Linked DNA regions of Homo sapiens: regions 2 and 3 are each linked to region 1. The links are contacts of gene promoters, found by promoter capture Hi-C in blood cells and fetal thymus (Javierre and others, 2016). All regions are on one chromosome and are shown on one strand. Each heading gives the region's core, a stretch centred on a gene start or on the middle of the fragment in contact. The rest is flanking DNA. Distances are from core to core; before and after follow the strand shown. Region 1 holds the start of SIAE (sialic acid acetylesterase). Region 2 overlaps CHEK1 (checkpoint kinase 1). Region 3 has its middle 33 kb from the start of OR10G7.

Region 1 (3,581 bases), core at 779-3,278:
GAACAGTATGCTGGAACGTGGCGAGGGTAGACTGTATGATCTTTTTTTCCCCCACTGATTTCTCCCGAGAAATGTATGCTCTTTTGCAGTTACCTTCCACGCTGTATGTCCGTGAGAAATACAATGAAGACGGTCTGAATAATGAACTGGTAATCTTCGATAATATGAAACGAATTTAAGAGAACATATCAAAGAGGTACATACTGTTTCAAAGAGCAAGAACTGTTATCTGAAACTCCCTGCCTCATAAAAGGCTTTCTGCAGAATGGAGATGGTCTTAAGCAAGTTTTACCATAAACAAATGCTTAGTTTCTTATTTTAAAAAATGACTAATTTTAGAAAGCTTACTCTCTCTTTTCTCTAGAAGGCTCTCAAAATAGGCTGCTGCAAAAGCTGGTATATTGTCCGGTTGCTCTCTCAGAATCTCGCGTGTCAGCCCTTCAAGAAGATTCCCAAATCCTTGTGGAATTCGGTAGTGGGTGTTGGAGAATGGAATCGACATCTTCTTGGTAAGAACTGCCTATGGAACCTAAAGATTCATTAAAGAGTACTGTCTTTAAATTTGTCTGATTTTACTTATATAATCACAACTATGCCAACAAATTATTTCTGAGACTCATACATCTGGACTTGAATTCTTTTTTCCCTAACACAACCCAAGCCCATCCATTTCTTCCAAAGAGTTTTGAAATCTCCATTGTGAATTAGTATAATACAAACACAGACCCATTCACTAGGCCAAATCATTTAAAATCCTGCAAAAAACCCATAATTTTCAATATGACTTTTTCTCTCTTTACCCTTTATATGCTCAAAAGGTAAGGGTAATTTTTGCTATCACACAGGAATTTAGAGAGAATGATTGCTAAAAAGTTAAATTCATTGTCAATTGCTGAGAAGACCTTCTTTGAGGTCTATTTTTTTTTAAAGAGTAGAAATTAGTCCTGGTTCTAGAAATTAATTTGTTGAATGAAGAAGTTGCACAATCTTTCCCCTTGCTGCCACTTCTGAAGCATGACCCACAATGCTTCGAACACCTTCGTACTGTGGAATGGGGTTGTGCGTGCGTGTGTGTGAGGGAGGGATGGGATGGGATGGGGCTGTGTGTCATGATTTTGAAATCCCAGCCTCTAAAGTTTTAGAATTCTTATATTTTTCGGTTTCTTCTTGATCAGGTTGTCTCTTTCTGTCTTGAAATACAAGGGCTAGATTAAGGGTAGCTGCTAAGCAGCGGGCTGAGCTACTACTGAGTATGAAAAGAATCCTCCGGGACCTGGCCTGTTAATGTGAGAGTGTGCGTCAATGCGGAATAGAGGCGGAGGCCGTGGTAGGGGTCCAGGTTGGGAGAACTGGACGGTTTAATGAGGCTCAGACTATGGAGGGTTCTCGTTTCATCGCTTTTTTTTTCTTTGAGAGGGGGTCTCTGGCCTCGAACTCCTGGGCTCCAGCGATGATCCCGCCTCAGCCTCCCGAGCAATTGGGATTACAGGCGCGCGCCACCACGCCTGACTCCTCTCTTTTGCTTTTTCTGAGGGAGCAGTAGATGGGGGTATCGAACCATTCTAGAGTGGTGAAAAGAGCTGGCGAGATTCTGAACCAATGTGGGCAGAGGAGGGCGGGCGGAGGGGGCAGACGGGTCTAGTCGGGGGCGGGATGTTGAGGACCTGGGATTTCAGACTCGCGCAGAATGGGCTGCCTCGGCTCCCAAACGGCCCAGGGCTCCGAGGCTGTGTCTGGGATGCTGAGAGAATAAGAGAGACGAAGGGAAAAGGCTAGGTCTTGGTATCGGAGAGGAAGTGGGGAAGCGGCCTCACCTCCTTTCTCTCCGAGCTGGTGCCGCCGGTTCCGGTTGTTTTTCTAGTTGCTGGGTAACCGTTTTTTCTTTAAAAAAAAAAAAAAACTACGGCGGCCGAGAAGGGGCGAGTACAGCCCAGTCCTGAGGTCGCGGGAGGCTGCGAGGACTGCAAAAGGGTGGAGTCGGCCTCGCCCCCGCCCAGGCCCCGCCCCTGCCGGGAACCCACTTTCCCAGTCCTAGGCGGCGGTCAGATCCTTGCAAGCATGGTCGCGCCGGGGCTTGTACTCGGGCTGGTGCTGCCATTAATCCTGTGGGCCGACAGAAGTGCAGGTGAGGCGGCCCGGCTCGGCCGGACCCCTGCCCCTCAGCCTGTGCGGGCTCCGAGACCCCGTGTCCTCTGCGGGACACGGATCCGCGCCCCTTTCTCAAGGTCGACGAAGGAACCTAGCTAGGCTAGGGGCTCGCGTCTCCGACCGAGGCCCGGTCTGCAGGAGTCTGCTGGGTTGAACCCCGGCCTCTCCACTTTCTCCACCCCCCACTTACCATCCCTGACATGCAGCCTGTGAGCAGGGAGAAAGTGCGGCTTGTCTGAGTGGGGAGGCCCAAATGTGCCCAGAAAGAGGCCTTCGGGGTCCTGGAGTAACTGCAGGGGAGCTCGGAGGGAAGGAGGCGAAGCTAGTTAGGTAATATTTGGAAACAGGTGACTGAATCTTCCAAAACATTTCAGCGCTACCCCCTCAGTGGTGCCCTTGGGGAGGGTTTGCTTCAGGCGGGGTTCCTTAGGGGAATTAAATTTTACTCGTTTAAGTGGTTATCAGGGCTAAGAAATACAACCCCCTCACTAGCTCTGACTATTTAAGGCTCAGTTTTGATTTCTGGTACCGCTTACAGATATTGGTGGTGGGAAAATGTGAGTGGCATAGGGGAGGCTGGTGGCTCCCTTTGGCTGTTGCGCAGGTCAGATCTTGCCATTCGAATACCCTAGGCTGGACACTGGGTCACAGTATGGAGAAAGCAGAAGGTGCAATCTGTCTGATAATGCAAACTAAAGTGATAATGTTGGATTTCTTCCTTTCTGTTTCAAAACACTCAAAGAGTGGACCCCAGAGATCCCTGTTAAGAAATGATAGTTGGGGTAGGAGAACAGCGTGCAGAAAAATGACTCCTGCTCTACCTGAGAGCCGGAAAAGTACCTAGATTCAGACAAACTGCAGCCCATAAATGATTGTTCAGAGTCTAACAAAAGTGCAAAATGCTAGCACTCTGTATGCCATTTCCTGACTCTTATCTCCACTCAGTGACCTTTGAGATCCATCTTATGAGGTGGGGAAAAGATATTTTATTAGGTTTTCAGTTAAAGGCTGTTTATTTTAGTGTCAGTATTTTATCTCCTCCTTTGGGTCTTATTGTTACATCACCTTCATTAACATTGATCACATTTTTCATTCATTAGTACTCTACTTGGTTGCGTATCCTGACGTTTTTCCTTTAAGTCATTCTCCCTGTGCCCATGTTTACCATGTAATGCTTGAGATGTACAAAATTATATGTAACAATGACACAATAAAATGAACACCCATGAGAGCAGTACCCAACTTAAGAACTAGAACATTGCCAGTCTATTGAGCCTGCCATTGTGCTCCTCGCCAATGCATCCGGAGCTCCTCACCAGAGGCAACCACTGCCCTCTCTTCCCCATAACACTAATTCCTGTTTTTCTACTCCAGCCCCAAATGAAGGAAAAAACTGAAGACCTAAAAAATCCAAATGTTGGCTCACACCTTTA
Region 2 (3,581 bases), core at 296-2,795, 950 kb before region 1:
AGTGAGCTAGGCTTGCACCTAGGTCAGATTTCTCTACCTGATCCGCACTTGTATTGCAAAATGAGACTTGTGATTTCCAAATATACGAAGTCTCCAAAATTTCCTTGATTTTTCAGATCTTGTCTTGAAATTCCAGTAATGCAAAAAGACTTGATTTTGCCTTGTATGGCTATATTAAAATAATTAGGTAATTAAAATAATTTAGGTAATTATTTTATTTTATTTTAGGTAGTGATAAAATGCTAAACTTACCCCTTTCATCCAACAGAAGATTTTCTGGTTTAATATCCCTGTGAGTTATTCCAATACCATGCAGATAAACCTAAGAGGGATGCAGAGAGAAACACACTAGAATTTGGTAATGTAATGTATTCACTCTAATTTTAAGTAAAAGGGAAATAGACAACTATACCTACCACCCCTGCCATGAGTTGATGGAAGAATCTCTGAGCATCTGGTTCAGGCATGCCTATGTCTGGCTCTAAAACAAATATGAAAGTAAGTTTATTGACTAAATATAATCAGGTAGCAACCACATAGCTTCTTAATTTGAAGCTTAGACATTTACAAATGTGCTTAGGCAAACAGAAGCAAATGCCAACAAAAGATTCAGGAGTCCACTAACACATATGGGGCTTAACTCACATTTACCTGTGTTAGGTGGCAAAAGGCGTCATCACAGAAAAATTATAAAGAGAAAACCAATATCCAAATCAAGAATGCAAGCCATGACTTCAAAGCCTCTGCTTCCTCTTATACTAACCCTGATTTATTTAGTAACCTTGAAATTCCCCCCATTTCTTCTAAATGCTATGCTAATTATTTTTCTCATTCCTGAAATATAATGCCAAAGGGGAAGTCTGGGCAAATCTAAGCCAATTTCACTAAATATTTTACAGATTATACTTCTTTTATAATTTAACTTTTTTTAGAGATACGGTCTTGTTCTTTCACCCAGGCTGGAGTGCCCTGGCGTGAGATCATAACTTACTGTAACCTGGAACTCTTGAGCTCAAGCAATCCTCCTGCCTCCTAAGTAGCTAGGATTGCAGGCATGTACCACCACACCTGGCTCAGATTTAAACTTCATATAGTCTCACAGTACAAAACCACAAATGCCTGTGAGGTCCTTCGTGAAACAGTTTTATTATGAAAGTTCTTTTATCAGTTATCTTTTTATATTTTGATCTCTCTCATTAACTCCATTTCTTTTACCCTCAACTCTCTCCTGAGTCACACTGGAGATCCTAATACCTCTTTATCAGTTTTTAACTGATAAACTTATTTAATACAATAGCTTTAAATTATAAATTTAAATTATAAATTTAGATCCAGATTTTATGTACTTCTCAGTGTTCTGAAATATCAATCCTTTGATTCTACATCGAATATTTAAGTATTAATAGCAAACATAGAATTTACTTAATATACAAAAAGCAATCCTAGAAAATTCTCAATTATTTCATGTAAACCAAGAGGAAACAGCATGCTATTTTAGATCTGTAAATGTATAAAATGTATACAATGATTTCATGTAACTAGAATGTCTACAAAGAAAAAATTGTGTAGGCAATACATTGCATTTAGGATACACTGCATTTATGATGTACCATAAAACTTGTTTGTCACTCTTAAATTCTGTAAGACACCAATCTTAAATCAAAATCACTTATATAACTTGGGAAAGAAGTTTTCTTTCATTGACTCTATATATGCTTTTATGTTATTAACACCAGGTGGAAAAATTTTTTAAAGATAATGTATTCCAATTTCACAGTTGCATGAGCAATTTTGAAAGGACAACGACCAAATAGCATGCCCAAGATTTAAAAAACAAATTTAAAAACTTGTTTAAAATAATTATCTTAAATTTCTTCCATACCTATTCTGTCAAAAAGCTCTCCTCCACTACAGTACTCCAGAAATAAATATTGGATATTGCCTTCTCTCCTGTGACCATAGAATTTTACTACATTTTCATGATTTAGCATTTTATTGATACAGATCTCTTTCTTAATATTTTCTGGACAGTCTACGGCACGCTTCATATCTACAATCTTCACTGCGACTGCTTCTTCAGTTACTCTATTCACAGCAAGTTGAACTCTAAAAAGGAAAAGAGTTTTAACATTACAGAATTCCATTTCTTCTAAAACTTCCAAAGATTAAACATGACTCATCCAAAACGATTTTACCTCTATTACTTTTTCCACAAAGGAGAAACCAAGGAAGTGGTTTCTGCTATGTTCTCAACACACACTACTCTTTTCTAAAATGTGAAATACAATAGCTAACCCTCCAAAGACGTCATTATGCTGTCACACAAGTCATTTAATAAACGCTTCATAAAATAGATTGAGATAATTCTAAGCCACATCACATATATACATGTTCTACTCATATACTTTTAAGAGCATTAATCCCATACTATATGTGCTTGTGTAACTGACTGTCCTAAGCTCCTATGGGGTAGATGCGATTATTGCCACCCTAAAGGTAGTGAAGGAGAGGTACACAATGACATTAAGAAGCTTGCCTAAGATCACAAAACAATGACCAGTATGTGATAGAGCAAGGATCTGAAACCAGGCAGGCAATCTCCAGAGTCTGCTCATTTGCTCATTAACCGCAATGCTTAAACCCTGAGAAGCAATTTGTGGGCATGGAAACAATAACTTCGTGTCCCTTCCAGCTCTCTACAAAGAAAACTTTTTTTTTTAAAGGGAAGGAAAAAATTTTTAATCCTAGCAAAAGGCTGTGTAACTTCAGTTGCCAAAACCCTTGGATCTCAAACATCTACTTTCTAAATCACCAGAGTGTGAGACTCCAAAACAATGAATATGCACTCAGAAAACGAAGGCAAGCTTAAAAGAACTCACTCTCCATAGGCACCTTCTCCCAGGGTTTGCACCAAGTCCCAGTCTTCCACAAAGGGCACTGCCATGACTCCACCGAGCACCTCGGCTGTAAAAGGCAGGAATCCAGAAAAGATGTAGAGTGTAAGATCACCAGTGAAGCCACTGAGCCCCGCCTCTCCCCAGGATTGCCCACGAAAATTAACAGCTCTTGCCTTCCCCTTCTATCTCATCCACATTTATCCAAGTCTTTCAACCACGAACAACTATTCTAAACCTGACCATTTTGTCGTGTAAATCACAATCGCCACTCCCAAGCACACCGAAGGTTGAAATTCTGCCCTCCTCAGGCCCCAGAGGAAATTAATTGTTGTTATGAAGAGGTGGGAGACAAATGCTTTCCGGCGAACGACTGGGGAAGGAGGAGGGAGAGGTGGGGGTCTGGGGAAGAGAGGAAGAGGATATAGGGAGCGGTATGGGGCAGAAAACGCCTGCGGCAGCGCCTCCTCCCAATTGCTCAATTCCAATTCCCATCCCCATCCACAGCCCCACCCGTCCCAAAGGCCGGGGCGGGGCCAAACTGCCCCCAGAGGCGAAAGGAAGGGCTGGGACTCTTCCTTGGGGTTCTTAGCTAGCAGCGGGTTAGTCCCTCCTGCCCCCGCCCCCACAACGGGAACCTCCTGGTACCATTCCTCCACCCTCCGAAACCGCCCCTCCGCAGGAGTC
Region 3 (3,581 bases), core at 613-3,112, 600 kb after region 1:
GGCAGCTAGGTGCTGGCCTGCAGGTGCCCCTGGGGGCTAGCAGCCTGGGCGGCATGGACAGTGTCAGGAGGCAGACAGACTCCTGGGTGGAAGGGGTCAGGTCCCCCAGGGAGGGTCCGAAGGCTAGGGGCCAGGCTGCTGGTGGAGTGGGGTCTTGTGGTGCCTTTTCCAGACCTGCCCATGGCCACCCATGGACCAACTGGCACACACTTCCTCTCCTCTGAGGTCCATAAAAGCCCTGGGATCAGCTACAGCAGGGTAGATCAGAGGATGGAGAGGTGACAGGATGATCAGCAGCAGAGAGGAGTTACACTCTCTGCTGAGAGCTGCAGAGGCAATGGGATGACCTGCTGCAGAGAGGAGCCACCACTCTAGGGCCTCTTCTCTGCTTAGAGCTGCAGACAATGGGAGGACCCGCAGCAGAGAGGAGCTACCCTCAACACTTGTTGAGATGACCTCTAGCAGAGAGGAACTACCCGCTCCCTAGGAGCTGAACACTTGTCAGGACACTCCGGCTGCAGAAAGAAGCTCCCCACTGCAGGTCCCCTCTGAGCTGTTCTATAGCTCAATAAAGCTCTTCTTCCTCTTACTCACCCTCCACTTGTCTGCATAACTCACTTTTCCTAGTCACAGGACAAGAACTCGTGACCCAACGAATGGCAAAGCTAAAAGAGCTGTAACACAAACAGGGCTGAGACATGCCCCTTGCTTGCTCCCTACATTGCAGGTGAAGAGAAGGAAAGAAGAGCTGTGGCCCTTTGGGGATCCCAGACCTGGGAGCTCCCCCACAGGGCTGTGACTCCCTCTTTGGGGCCCTGCAATCTCCAAGCTTCCAGGCACCACCATGGTCCCCAGTGCCAGCTGTGGAAGCTGCTTGCAGTGCACCTGGTCTGGCCACAGCCTTGCAAAGAACCAGCACCCATGCCGGCACTTGGAGCTGCCCACCCCACTGCAGCAACCAGCCTGTCTGACTGTGTGCAGTGGCCAGACCTCACACTTGCTCACATACCCTTCACCGCTCCCACCTTACTCGCCCTTGGGAGACATGGGATCAAGGCCAGTAGCGTCAGCCAAGCACAGCCTGCAAGGCCAAGTAGGCAGAATGAGCCCAGTGGGCCCCACCAAATCTCAAGCAAAGGCGCCACTGGTCACAGATGTTTCCGGTCAGAAAAGTGACACCCCAAAGATCCCCTAACAGTAGACCTTCCCCACAATTGTTTTGCTTTGTTTCTTATATATAAACAAGCATTGTACCTAAGGTGGACGTAATTCTTCCTTTTGCTTTTGGGAATGTCCTGCTCTGCCTATGGAGTGGCCATTCTTTCATTCCTTTACTTTCCTAATAAACTTGCTTTTGCTTTACTCTGTGTATTTGTCCTGAATTGTTTTTTGCACAAGATTCAAGAACCCTCTCTTGGGGTCTGGATTGTGACCCTTTTCTGATAAAACAATTTAATGTTTTATATTGAAATGTGCTAATGTTGAATTTGTAAAGATACTATCAATAAAGAAAAATACAAACAATAATTGTTTTTAATCTACTGAAATCTATCGAGCAATAACCACTCAACAATTTGGTGATCATCTTTCCACCAAAGACACACGCATATGCTACACACACAAATTTACACAAGTAAATAACATTATAGCTATGATACTATACTCTAATTTTCCTATTCCCTAAAGCTTTTTCTCACATCAGTAACAGATAGCTGCCTCAACTTGAATGACTATAAAAATTCATTTTATGAATAAGTCAAATTATTCTTAACCCATTAATAGAAATATTTTTCTTTAAGAGTTTACATTAATGAACAATCACTTTAAACTATCATCTCAACTAAGACACTTATTTCATATGTATGGTTCATTCATATGTGTATAATCTTGGTTATTTCCCTGCTTTATAAACGCAAAGGAACATAGTTATATTCTTATGTCTTTTCCCAGATTATTTTTACATCACTGTGAAAGGAAAACCTTTTTATATTACTTGTTAAAAATTTTTCTGATGGTCATAAGTTTGGGATTAAGCTTTCAATTTTGGGGCTTTCCTGCCCTCCATCAGGCTCATTAGATCAGATGTATTTCACTGCCATCATTTTCTTTTTTTCTTTTCTTTTTCTTTGGAGATGGAGACTCACTCTGTCACCAGGCTGGAGTCCAGTGGTGCGATCTCGGCTCACTGCAACCTCTGGTTCCCGGTTCAAGCTCCCGGTTCTCCTGTTCAGTCTCCTGAGTAGCTGCGGCTAGTGTTCTAATCTTTGCAAAGGTAGTTCCAAGAAGAGGAAAATAGTTCTGTCTAAAAGAATTCTTTGGAGTATTTATAGTTTCAGAAAAATAGAAATTTATGTGTAAAAACTGAAACTAAGGTAACATATTATTAACTAAAACAACCAGATAGCAAAACATATTTTAGAGATGAAGCATTACATTTTAGAGGACGTAGAACAATTTTTCCAATCAAGGTGAGTGTCCTAAAAGTTTGCATTATTAAGGAAAGTTCAAGGGGACGATTTTATAAAAATTATAAAGAAAAGAAGTGCAACACCGTACATTTTCTCAAGGCCCATAGTTTTGTGAATGTTTTCCTACATCATTTTATCAAAAAGGTTCTGACAATTCCAAATGCTATTTACTGCTATGGTGTTACGGGAAGGGGAAATCTTTTCTCTTTCATTTTTCTGAGATTCCTAATTGGTAGCAATTGTTAATAAAAAAGGCAAAAAATCTTAAGACTAAGATCTGGAGATAAGCAAGTTTTCACAGAAAGAAACTTAAAACTTTGAAAATAGTGAAAAGCGCAGGAGGAATTTTAACAAATGCAAAATGAGGAATATAATAGGATGTTTTTACTTGCAACCAGGAATTAAAATGGAGGAGAAAGTAAGTTGTTTCTTACCTCTATCAGTTTCAAGTTTACTTAGCGTTTTTGATTTGGAGAAGAAAGGAAAAGATATACGTCAGAGATCTTTTAGGTAAAGCAAAATGAAACAAAAATATGTATGAGTTATGGGAAAATAGAAGAAAGAAAAAGGAGGCCGCAAGCAGTGGCTCACGCCTGTAATCCCAGCATTTTGGGAGGCCGAGGCGGGCAGATCATGAGGTCAGGAGATCAAGATCAGCCTGGCCAACACGGTGAAACCCTGTCCCTAGTAAAAATACAAAAAAATTTAGCCAAGCGTGGTGGCGCACGCCTGTGATCCTAGCTACTCGGGAGGCTGAGGTAGGAGAATTGCTTGAACCTGGGAGGTGGAGGTTGTAGTTAACAGAGATCGTTCCACTGCACTCTAGCCTGGGTGACAAGAGAGAGACTCCGTCTCAAAATAAATAAATAAATAAATAAATAAATAAATAAATAAATAAATAAAACAAGAAAGAAAGAAAAAGGAAAAGATGTGGAAAAGGTAGAAATAAGTCAGTGTATTCCTGCGGGACTACATAAGACAAAAGGACAAGCACTTCTCTCTTTCCTTCTCCATCACAAACAAACCTTTCCGTCAGATTTAGTGTAAGTTTTATCAAACTGTATGTCACAGAATAGTCAGAATATCCTGTAGCTGGGAAATTCCTTTTATTCT

Evidence for each region. Contacts are between HindIII fragments. The CHiCAGO score rates a contact against its expected background, and 5 or more counts as called.
Region 2: a contact is called between a fragment that was not itself captured here and the fragment with the promoter of SIAE in region 1, in 1 of 17 cell types (total CD8 T cells). The highest score is 5.5, in total CD8 T cells.
Region 3: a fragment that was not itself captured here is called in contact with the fragment with the promoter of SIAE in region 1 in 1 of 17 cell types (total B cells); the score reaches 6.4 in total B cells.

Annotation. Positions count from the first base shown.
Region 1 is chr11:124,672,186-124,675,766 of GRCh38, reverse strand. SIAE (sialic acid acetylesterase) reads left to right here and starts at 2,028. Exons shown (of 10, transcript NM_170601.5): 1 at 2,028-2,125. The coding sequence starts at 2,059. SPA17 (sperm autoantigenic protein 17) reads right to left here and starts at 1,863. Exons shown (of 5, transcript NM_017425.4): 1 at 1,815-1,863; 2 at 349-529. The coding sequence starts at 502. LOC124902780 (a long non-coding RNA gene) reads right to left here and starts at 342. Exons shown (of 2, transcript XR_007062933.1): 1 at 205-342; 2 at 1-101. RefSeq lists an enhancer at 1,753-1,932 and silencers at 1,842-2,000, 1,973-2,092. The HindIII fragment of the contact is 8,074 bases long and covers 346-3,581 here.
Region 2 is chr11:125,626,132-125,629,712 of GRCh38, reverse strand. CHEK1 (checkpoint kinase 1) reads right to left here. Exons shown (of 13, transcript NM_001114122.3): 2 at 2,880-2,964; 3 at 1,883-2,106; 4 at 417-481; 5 at 253-322. The coding sequence starts at 2,944. Among named protein-coding and RNA genes, the nearest start is that of CHEK1, 2.8 kb to the right of the region's middle. RefSeq lists enhancers at 2,905-2,954, 2,515-3,058. The HindIII fragment of the contact is 1,976 bases long and covers 558-2,533 here.
Region 3 is chr11:124,072,123-124,075,703 of GRCh38, reverse strand. No RefSeq gene overlaps it. Among named protein-coding and RNA genes, the nearest start is that of OR10G7, 33 kb to the right of the region's middle. The HindIII fragment of the contact is 348 bases long and covers 1,689-2,036 here.